3 separate regions of the Homo sapiens genome follow, and all the other regions are linked to region 2. The links are contacts of gene promoters, found by promoter capture Hi-C in blood cells and fetal thymus (Javierre and others, 2016). All regions are on one chromosome and are shown on one strand. The core of a region is centred on a gene start or on the middle of the fragment in contact, and the rest is flanking DNA. Distances in the headings are between cores, read along the strand shown.

Evidence for each region. Contacts are between HindIII fragments. The CHiCAGO score rates a contact against its expected background, and 5 or more counts as called.
Region 1: a fragment that was not itself captured here is called in contact with the fragment with the promoter of CRB2 in region 2 in 2 of 17 cell types (activated CD4 T cells and naive CD4 T cells); the score reaches 5.5 in activated CD4 T cells.
Region 3: a contact is called between a fragment that was not itself captured here and the fragment with the promoter of CRB2 in region 2, in 1 of 17 cell types (naive B cells). The highest score is 5.7, in naive B cells.

Annotation. Positions count from the first base shown.
Region 1 is chr9:123,047,752-123,051,370 of GRCh38, forward strand. The region is part of intron 13 of RABGAP1 (RAB GTPase activating protein 1); the gene reads left to right. It also overlaps a transcript of GPR21 not described here. Among named protein-coding and RNA genes, the nearest start is that of GPR21, 16 kb to the left of the region's middle. The HindIII fragment of the contact is 3,989 bases long and covers 1-3,619 here.
Region 2 is chr9:123,354,086-123,357,544 of GRCh38, forward strand. CRB2 (crumbs cell polarity complex component 2) reads left to right here and starts at 2,112. Exons shown (of 13, transcript NM_173689.7): 1 at 2,112-2,269. The coding sequence starts at 2,176. RefSeq lists silencers at 1-42, 63-112 and enhancers at 75-574, 243-412. The HindIII fragment of the contact is 7,167 bases long and covers 1-3,388 here.
Region 3 is chr9:123,026,571-123,029,849 of GRCh38, forward strand. The region is part of intron 13 of RABGAP1 (RAB GTPase activating protein 1); the gene reads left to right. It also overlaps the pseudogene RPS25P8. Among named protein-coding and RNA genes, the nearest start is that of GPR21, 5.5 kb to the right of the region's middle. The HindIII fragment of the contact is 903 bases long and covers 1,179-2,081 here.

The DNA of each region.
Region 1 (3,619 bases), core at 686-3,185, 310 kb before region 2:
CCTTTGAATATGGGTGTGAATGCAGACCTCTTACGGAATTCTTAATGCAGTGCAGCAGTTCACTGATGGAGCTGTTACATGACTGGTATCATTCAAACACAGATTTTCATTTAATATTTGTTAATTGTTATAAGAGCAAAAATATCTAGCCATTTTACAGCTGCTGGGTTTTTTTTTTTTTTTTTTTTTTTTTTTTTTTTTTTTGAGACGGAGTCTTGCTCTTGCTGCCCAGGCTGGAGTGCAATGGCGCGATCTCGGCCCACTGCGAACCTCCGCCTCCCAGGTTCAAGCGATTCTCCTGCCTTAGCCTCCTGAGAAGCCGGGATTACAGGTGTGCATCACCACGCCCAGCTAATTTTGTATTTTTAGTAGAGATGGGGTTTCACCATGTTGGCCAGGCTGGTCTCGAACTCCTGACCTCAGGTGATCCGTCCATCTTGGCCTCCCAAAGTGTTAGGATTACAGGCGTGAGCCATCATGCCCAATCAACTGCTGTATATTTTTGCTACTCAATAGACACATTTAAATCTCTGATTTGTGACTTATTTCAGAAGAGAAGCTAACTTTGTAAAGTAAAACTGAGTATTTGTTAGCATTTTGAAGCATTTATAAGCATTTTCTTGGAAATAATCCATTGATTCGATTATTTAAAAATATAACTTGAGCAATATGAGACTTGGTCCTCTGTGTGTCTGTGTGTTGCATGTTATTAGTAGGTGATTTTGAGAAGATTTTATCCATAGCATACAACGCTTTACAAAATCTTTAAACAAATAGTACAAGTCAAACAATACAGTACGTATTAAGCTGTACTAAGAGAGCATTTGATATGCAGTTTACTTGGTAATAATACAATGAAATAAGTATTTGGAAGTTCATCACAGTTATCAGAAACATTTGTTTGGAATATGACTTTGCATATAATAATTTTATGTCTTAGTTCACCCATAAATTACCTTCCCCCTTTGACTATCACCACCTCTTAAATCAAAATGATATTTTGTGTGTTCACTTTTGTCAGGTAACAGTACTTGAGTATTTCCTGCTTCTTGGGCCTCTCCATGATGGATTGCTGTGAAGGAGAATCAACAATAGCAAACCAGGAAAAGGTTGACAGTGCAGTTAGCATTTATGTCTTATTTATACATGATTTGGGACCGTTTTGCCAAACATTGAATAATTTTCCTGTGGGAAACTTGAGCCCTAAAAGGAAATGAACATAGCTAAAAGGCTGCATATCACATGGGACTTAGATTTATTTTTAGAATGGCACTATAATGCCATATTTGGATTGAAACAATGTGATAGCAGTAAAATATTTCATTAAATAAAGAGCCATCTTTTCTGAGGAAGTCATCTGCTTTTCTATTTCAACGTGTGGTATAGATTGAACATAATACTTATATAATCATTCAGCTAATATAATTCTAAAGTATATGTTAAAGGAGCTTATTTGGCAAACATTTCTAGAGCCAGCTTATTGAGTCTGGTGTAGTAAAGGTTCTGTGACAGTTCAATGATTACAGCATATGGTGTTTTTTGTTGTTGTTGTTGTTGTTGTTTTGTGTGTTTGGAGTAAGTTGTTTGGAGGGGAAAAGAGTAAAGGGAGTAGAGTCATTTGGAATGTTTATATTATTTTTCTTGAAATGGATGAACTCCTTACTAAATTAGACAACGATAATAGAGAAACCTAGATGGATTTTTGCTTCTGAGAAATGATTTTGGAAGAAAAAAGATAATCAGCAAAGGTATTTAATATTGAGCTCTACAGTGTTTTCATTAGTATGGTTCATAGGCTAAAAAACAAAATACTCTTATTGTATCACTTATGTTTCAAGTATCAGTTTTTCTGCCACCTGATTTCTTTATAATTTCATTTGGTTTAAATGTGATGTTCATAACATTCAGGAGATTTCTGAACTGTATACTGTCTAATTGCAGATCCCCGACAGGGCACTAAGTCCCAAACAGGAAAACTTGCCAAATACAGATTTTGTCCCTTGGCTTCTCTCCCAAGGTGGGAAATATGCCAGCATCATAAATCTCAAGTCTGTTGAGAAAGAGCTACCGCTGATATACCAGGCCTTAAGCCACCAGCTTTCCATGCAGTATTTCATTTGCTTCTCATAAACTGTGAGGCAGGGACCATTGCATAGATTTTATAGATAGGTTTGTTAAGGTTCAGATTAGTTAAATGACTTGCCCAAGGTCACACAAATTAGTAAGTGGGAGAGGCAGTACCCAGAGACAGAACAGCCTGGCCCTAGACTTTGTGTTCTGTTGGTTGCATTGTGATCTAAGTAGAGCACCTAAAGTCCATCGTCTGCATTCTTTGTCAAAAGTCCAACTCCAGTCTCCACACAATTATGACCAGATTCTGAAATGCCTTTAGTTACCTCCATGTTCATGGGTATCTAATTCCAGTCTGCTCTGTGTGATGTGTTGGAGCTTTGGAGTAGAAATTTTAAAGCATTAATTACTGAATACCTAAACAATATGTCATGTATTTAAATGTATAGAGATCAGTTTACTATTTCTTTTTGGTCCAGGTTTTGAATTGTTATTGTTAATCAGTGGCAGTTTTACTGCAAGTATGGTTTTTGCCTTCAAGAGCAAATCACCAGGGTAAATACACAAAGCAATATCTACACACAAATCCAACTTCCACTAAAATCCCTGCTGTTGCACTGGTGTGGAAGAACAGCATCACAGCACAGAGAGGTCCCATGGTTCCTAGTTGAAAATACTGACTTAAAGGGCAGTGTTGCTAGTCATGTAGGGACAAGTAAAAATGTGTTTGTTTTATATAATTACATTCTTCAGAGCTAAATTAAGATGAAGATGTTTTTGTATTGTCAGTGTTAAGTGAGCCCACCAATCGATACCTATTTCTATAATTCTTACTGATTTGACTATGTAATTGACTTTGAGAGGCTTTAATTTGTTTGATACAAATATACTATAATTCCTATTACTGATATACAGGCTATGAGGTCCTGTATTATGTAAGATTGAGCTGCAGATTTGATTCCGAGCCTCCTGAAGGCCGAAGCAAAAATGAACATTGGATCATTTCCATGGGGAAAAATATGTATAATTTTTTAGGAGAAACTGTTTTTTGATGGGGACACTGAGTAAAGTGGTAGATGTCCTCACCACCATGAAATACAAAGTTTCAATAGCAGGGTTTTTTTTGTTTGTTTGTTTTCTTTTTTTTGACAGGGTCTTAGAACATGCTAATACCACAACTTAGTGAAGGTAGTTATGTGAAAGGCCAGGATATTGTGATCTAAAAATATATCTATCTGGTGGTCAGCCTTGAAGAAAAAAACTCAGAACATTGAAAAGAATACTCAATTTTTTTTTTTTTTTTAGGATCTGAAATGGTTAAGATACATGCCCCCAGCATTCAGCGACTGTGCCTTTTCTTTGAGGAGCCACATGTTGTGATTTTATTCACCTTGGTTTTTTTTTTTTTTTTTTTTTTTTTTTTTTTTTTTTTTTTTTTTTTTTGAGACGGAGTTTCACTCTTACTGCCCAGGCTGGAGTGCAATGGCGCGATCTTGGCCCACTGCAACCTCCGCCTCCCAGGTTTAAGGGCTTCTCCTGCCTCAGCCTT
Region 2 (3,459 bases), core at 862-3,361:
ATGGTGTGCCCTTGTCTGACCTCCGTCCTGCCTGCTGTCCAGCGACTCCCTGGCTTCCTCCCCGTCACGTGGGACTCCTGTACCCGGTGCTGTCGGGGGAGCCCCCCTCCATACCCTCCAGACCTCACAAGACACTTCCAGGTCTGGCCACAAGGTGGAGTGTGGCGGCTGCAGGACAGTGCTGGGGGCCGGGCTGCAGAGGAGACTGGACCTGCGCCGGGTGACCTCCCCGCTCTGTGAAAGTGTGGGAGTTTGTGTCTGTGCATCCAGAGAACCAGAGGGTGGTGGTTGACTTGCCGTGCTCCCCCCAGCCCCCCATTGGGATTGCCTGGGTCTCTGGGGGATCACTGAGAAGCTGGATAAAGAGAGCTGGCACTGTCGCCTTGGCTCACTAACGCCACCATTTTACAGGTGAGGAGACTGAGGCCCAGAGAAGGAAGTCACGTGCTGAGGTCACCGGCTAATCAGTGGCTGAGCTGGGCTCGAACCCAGATCTCTTACGCTGTGAGGCCTCTGCTTTTCCTGTGGCATGGAGAGGGGCTTCTCCCACCTGGGGAGAGGGATCCTGTTGTATTGGAGAGGCAGGGGATTAAAGATGGACTGAGAGAGGTTAGTGTCCCAGAAACCAAGGGGCAATCCCTGCCCTGGAGAGAACAGGCCTCAAGGGCAGGGATGGGGCAGGGGCAGTGGATAAGGAGTCTACCCAGGCCTTTTTGGGTTCCCTCCTTTGGTCCCTGGGGACCCAGGGCTGTGGCACTTGCCCCGGGCTAGAGGGTCGGCCAGGGCCTGTGTGGTGCCCACTGCTCCCTCCCCTGCACTGCAGGGGACCCTTGCCCATCCCTCTAGCTCATCTGGACCTCCCTCAATGGCTCCTGCTGTCTTTCCAGGCTGTGTCCTCCCGTGTCAGGGACACATCCCAGAGCCCAGGGCCTGCGTGGGCTGTATCCACGGTTACTGAATAGGGACAAACAGGCATGTATTGGCAGGGGCCGGTGGCTCATTTCAGGAAAGTCCCTTCAGCAAGAGGATTCTCTCCCCACTGGGGCTGAGGGTGGTAGAAGAAAGGAATGTTGTTCTATGTTGTAGTGTCTCTGAGATGACCTGGCTTCCTGAACCAGGTCCCCCTGAAGAGCTCCTCCTGTCCACCCCAACAAGAGGCCAGCTGGAGAGCAAGCAAACATCGAGTGCAGCAGGAGACTATAAGGTTAGACAACAAGAAGGACTTCCTGGCAGGGGAGAGCAATGCTTGCTTGGTTAGAGCTGCCTTTCAGTAGAATGGGCTGCTTTGGATTGCAGTGAGGTCGCTGGAGTTGCAAACAGCAGAGCCAGAGATCAAGGTCAAGTGGAAGAAAGCTGGGAAAGGTTCAGTTTGGCTGGTGAAGGGTGGAGAGGGTAAAGGGAGGCAGGGACCACCGTGGTGCAGGGGTGAGGTGCCCTGCAGGGAGCTGATCCTGAGGCCGATGGTGGGAGGAGCTGTGTGTGGTCGGGTGGGACGGGGTGGGGACAGCAGGAGACACTGAGAAGGTGGCATGGCCAGGAGCTAGGGGCTGACCGAGTGTGGGGAGGGGGGAGTGGGGAGGGGGCGTTGGGCTGCCCGATGGGAGGTGCCTTGGCTCCGATGGGAGCACTGGGGAGCAGCAGGTGGGGGGACGAGCTGGGTGGGAGGGGCTGCAGCTTCCCAGCAGAGACAGGGTCTGGGAGGCGACTGGACTCGAAGGCCTGGGCTTGGGAGAGAGGCCCGGGCTGGAGAGGTGGGGAGGGGGATCCAGGAGAGGGGATAACTAAGGACTTGGGAGTAGCTGGCATCACCTGGTGAGACGAGAGTCCTGAACAGCCCCCTCTCCAAGGACAGAAATTTCTCCAAGGAGGCTGACCTGAGAGGTGGGAGGAGAGTGGGGCAGAGGGTCAGGAGGGAGAAACCAGTGGGTGCCAAGACCAGGTCAGCCCCACAGGCTAGGGGGCTTGAGGACTTGGGGCTGATGTCTAGGGACGTCCACGAGGTGGAGCAGCCCAGGAGGCCTGGGTGGGAGGAGGAGGCGGTGGCGGGGAGGGGAGGGAGGGGCTGGGCCTCTGTCCACAGCATTAGTGCTGGTTGGAGGGACGAGGGGGGTGCGGAGCCAGCCAGGCCGCCCTCCCGTTCTCACAGCAGCCGAGCAGAGCGCAGAGCGGGCTGCCATGGCGCTGGCCAGGCCTGGGACCCCGGACCCCCAGGCCCTGGCCTCTGTCCTGCTACTGCTGCTCTGGGCCCCTGCCCTTTCCCTCCTGGCTGGTGAGTTGGGGCCCATGTCTGGAGGGGCCTGGGAGAGGGTCTGTCCCCCAAGACAGATACCCCAAGCCTTGGCTGCTGGGGTGGTGGGTGGGCTGGTCCGCGTGGGTGCAGGCCTGAGCTGTGGGGTGCACAGGAGTGCGCGGCTGTGGCCCCCAGACTCTGTGGGGCTCCACGGAGGTGAGTGTGTTCTGAGGCTCGGGGCTGTTTCATGTTGAGGGGGGTTGTAAGTTTCGGGGTTGGGGGATCGGGGGCTGGGCATGATTTGGGGGAGCTGATGCGGGTGAGGGATGGGGTGCGTGTTTTGGGAGGTGCTGTGTTGCATCCTGTAAAGGGCTGGGGGACTTCTGGGTTTCTAGGGGCTGAGTTTGGGGAGTTGCAGGTGGCATAAGCCTCACCCCAGAGCTTGTTCTGTGTCGCATGCTGGGTTGTGGGGCACAGGTTGTGGGTGTGTTAGAGTTGGGAGGTGGATGAGCTGTCTGGGGTGAGCCGTGAGTTGTGTCCGAGGAGTTGGGTGTGGTGAGCTGTGTCCTAGCACACGCTGTGGGGTGTAGGTTGTCCAGGGTTGAACTAGGTCTTTGCTCTCAACATGAGGGGTGTGGGATGTGCACAGCCGACCCCAACTCGGGACTGAGTGGAGAAGCGTGAGGGAGACTCAGGGAGCTGGGTGCCTGCCCGCACCCCTCCATTTGTGCGGTAGCCCTGCCTGTGCTGAGGGCTGCTGGGGATGCTCTGGGTCCCTGTGGGGTGGCTGGGGATTTGGGAACATGTGTGTGTCCCCTGCTGCCCCCTCCCCAGCATTCCAAGGCCAATCTGAAAGGGCTCCCTGAAGCCAGACCACATTTGCCAAGCCCTTTTTGCTTTTGTCCAAGCTCTCGGAGCCTGGAATTCCTCCTGGGGGGTCCAAGGGAACGCTTGGTGTTAGTTACTATAGTTACAGGGGCCGGGCCTGGGAAGTCCCCTGCCCCCACCACCACAGGCTGGGGAGGGAGCCAAGGAGGGCCTGGGCTCTCCTGAGGCTGGGGGAGCCCTCCCTGCCCCAGAGCTCCACAGGCTGTAGGGTGTGGGGGCCAAGTGTCTCCCAGTCCCACCTGGGGACCCTCATGTTTCCCGCACTCACAAAGCTTTCATTTCCTATCCTCTCTATGGGGCCCTAGGGAGGATGAGGACCCCATTTTGCAGTGAAGGAAACC
Region 3 (3,279 bases), core at 380-2,879, 330 kb before region 2:
TTAAGAGCTCCTCAACCCTGGCCTCTAGGTAGAACTTGTCAGACTCAGAGGGAAGAAAGCTTAATAAGTAATCCACAGAGACTCTCATGGCTTCTCTTACCTCCAGTTGCCTGTAATTCTTACAGCTGTTTGGATCTTGTGAATCAAATAAGTTGGAGTTGAAAATGAAGGGGAAACAAAGGCACTTTCTTGTTCCCGGCTTCCAGAATCCTCTTCTGTCCCTTCTTTCTGATGGTTATTTTTTACCTTTTGTGTTGGTGGCTTAGCTTCTTATAATTCAGTGCTTAGTAGCAAAAATTTACAGCAAACTACTTCTTCAGTAGATCATTTTAATAACGAGAGAATAATGAAATAGCAACCTATTCTGATGTTTTTCTTTCCTTCCATCCACTTGGCCTTGCTTATCTTTTCTTAAACTTATCTGCATCATTTTCTCTAGTTTCAACTTCAGTGATAAGAATCTTTAGCAAGCTTTTATCCAGAAGCAAACTAGTAGCAAGCTCAAATAACCAATATTTACATTTCTTTCTTTCTTTTCTTTTTTTTTTTTTTTTTTTGAGACGGACTCTCGCTCTCTCGCTCTGTTGCCAGGCTGGAGTGCAGTGGCACGATCTTGGCTCACTGGAACTTCCGCCTCCCAGGTTCAGTGATTCTCCTGTCACAGCCTCCCGAGTAGCTGGGACTACAGGCATGTGCCACCATGCCCAGCTAATTTTTGTATTTTTAGTAGAGATGGGGTTTCACCATGTTGGCCAGGATGGCCTCGATCTCTTGACCTTGTGATCCCCCCAGCTTGGCCTTCCAAAGTGCTGGGATTACAGGCGTGAGCCACCGTGCCCTGCCAACCAATATTTACATTTCTAATTGTTGAAAGGAATCCCTGGAGGCCCAGCCACATTTTGCTAGTCTGGAAAAAATAATGTATTCAATTATTATGTTATTACTACGCAGATTGTTTTGCTTTTTAATTAACAACTTCTGTCTGGTAGGTTTGTATTATTGAATAATATTTAATCATAAGCATATGCCTGTGGATACCCAACAATAAAAGGAGATCGATTTAGCAAAAAAGAATGTTGGCCATGGAGGAGGAAGCCTGGGTACTAGTTTCAGTTCTGCCGCTTCATTTCCTCTTCTCTGAACTGAGGTAGCTGAGGTAGTCTGTTGATTTTTCCTTAAGCTTTGACATTCTGGAAAATCAGACAGTGTGTTTGAGTCCTGCCCTCCAAAATAGGCCATAATTCCATTTTTTCACAACTGAGCACTCTTGCTGCCTTGTCCTACATGAAAATAGTGGCTGGTGGATGTTAGAACTGTATTGTCTGCTGTCATACAGCAATTGCTACAGTAGGTCCCTCTAAATTATTACTTGTGAACATAATTTTAAGCCCTATATCTTATCCCTGTGAAGTTATTTTCCTTTGTGTGAGTTTATGTAAGTCATACTTGCTGGGAGTTCTAAAGGTTTCCTGAATTATAAGACTGGAAACATATTTGGTTTGTCCATGTTAAAATTGCTATTTGACAGTTTTTGACCCACAAATAGGCAATTTCATATGCCTCGACCTAATAATTATAGGTGAGTTAAACAGTTACCATGCTGGGGTTTTACTTGAAAGATCTTTCAACTTAGAAGCAGAATTGCCTTTTGTTTCATTGGACATTCATTGTTTATTCAATAAAAAATACCTTTTGAATGCCTACCCTGTGCCAACCCTGTGGTAGGCCTCATGGATATGCCCATAAATAAAATAAACTTGTTCACTGGTTTCAGGAAGTCTGCAGTCTAATGAAGGAAATAGACAGTTAACTATAAACAATCATAAAGTTGCATGGGAGTTGTAGAAGAAAAAATATATACTGCTGTACTGCATATGACATGAAGGATTTCTCACCTAAGTGTTCTAAAAGGTCTCTTGCTCAGAAATTAGCCAGGGGTTGGATAGTTGGGGTGGGATAGGGTGCTGCATAACAGATGTGGTCTTAAAAGTCAGAGAGAACAGCGTGTACTCAAGGCAGTTCCATAGAGTGTGAATGGAGGTAAGACCAGAGAGGTGGTAGATAGGGAACAGATCTTTGAAAGCTTCAGAAGGCATATTTAAGGTTTTGGGCAACAGAAGCGAATGAAGCATTTTAAGCAGGCAGGTTATATATTCCGGTTTATAAGGCAGTATGCAAAGTGGTTTCCATCTAAAGGCAAATTGTCTTAATTCAGATCCTAGTTCTGCTGTATTCTAGCCATTGAAATTGGGCAATTTAACATTCATACGCTTTGGTTTCCTTATCTGTAAAATGGAATAATAATAGTTGTAGAGTTGTTAGAATTAATGTGTGAAAATTCTTAGTATAATCCATAGTCCATACTAAGTGTAAATAACTTAATATTATATATATTTTTTGCTTATTATCTGTATTATCAGGCTTAGAAAGATCACTCTGTTACTTGGGCTAGCATGGAGTAAGAATAATTGCAGCGAGACCCGTTAATAATTCAGGCAAGAGATAATTTCAACTTGGATTGGGGTGTAGTGGCAAAGGGATGGGGAAAAAGATGCTATTTAAGAGGATTTCAGAGGTAGAGTCCTTGGCACTCACTTGATGACTGAATGAATGTGGGAGATGAGGGCGAGGGAGGAATAAAAGATGAGTCAAAGTATCTCAAATCATTTTTGGAATGACAGTTACATAAATAAACTCACATCAGCTGCACTAAAATAATATGTTAATTAATCAATGTTTAAAGCTCATTTTTTTTTTTTACTTAATAAAGTTTTATTTTTCCAAATGTAGAGTTGCTTGGACCTGTTCATGCATCTTCACCAGCAGCTGGAGCATCTCTGCCCTTGGTATTTCTGGTGTAAATTACTTGAGCTCTGTGCTTTGAAACCAGTTTGATAAGTCCTTTACTAAGGAGCTCCAGAAGGGCTGCCCTGGCCAGGGAACCTCAAATCTTCAGTCTCTTAGAGACCACAACTGGAGTTATAAGTTTATAGTTGGGAACTTCCTTACAGAGTTTGTCATATGTAGCTTTGTCAAACAAGACAAGGTATTGAGCTTGTCCCTAACTTTGCCTTTGGACCATTTCTTCTTTTTGGCCTTGCCCCCGGGTTTGTTCACTGGGTCTTTGTCTTTCTTGGCTGACTTTCCAGTGTCTGTCTTCTTCTTGTAGTCCTTGGGTGGCATCGTGAAGCTCGGAGAGCAGTGGCGAACACTGCAGCCTTGCTAAGATGTCAGACAAAAAGTGAAGCTCATTTTTACCAAATAATAAGTGGTAGTTGA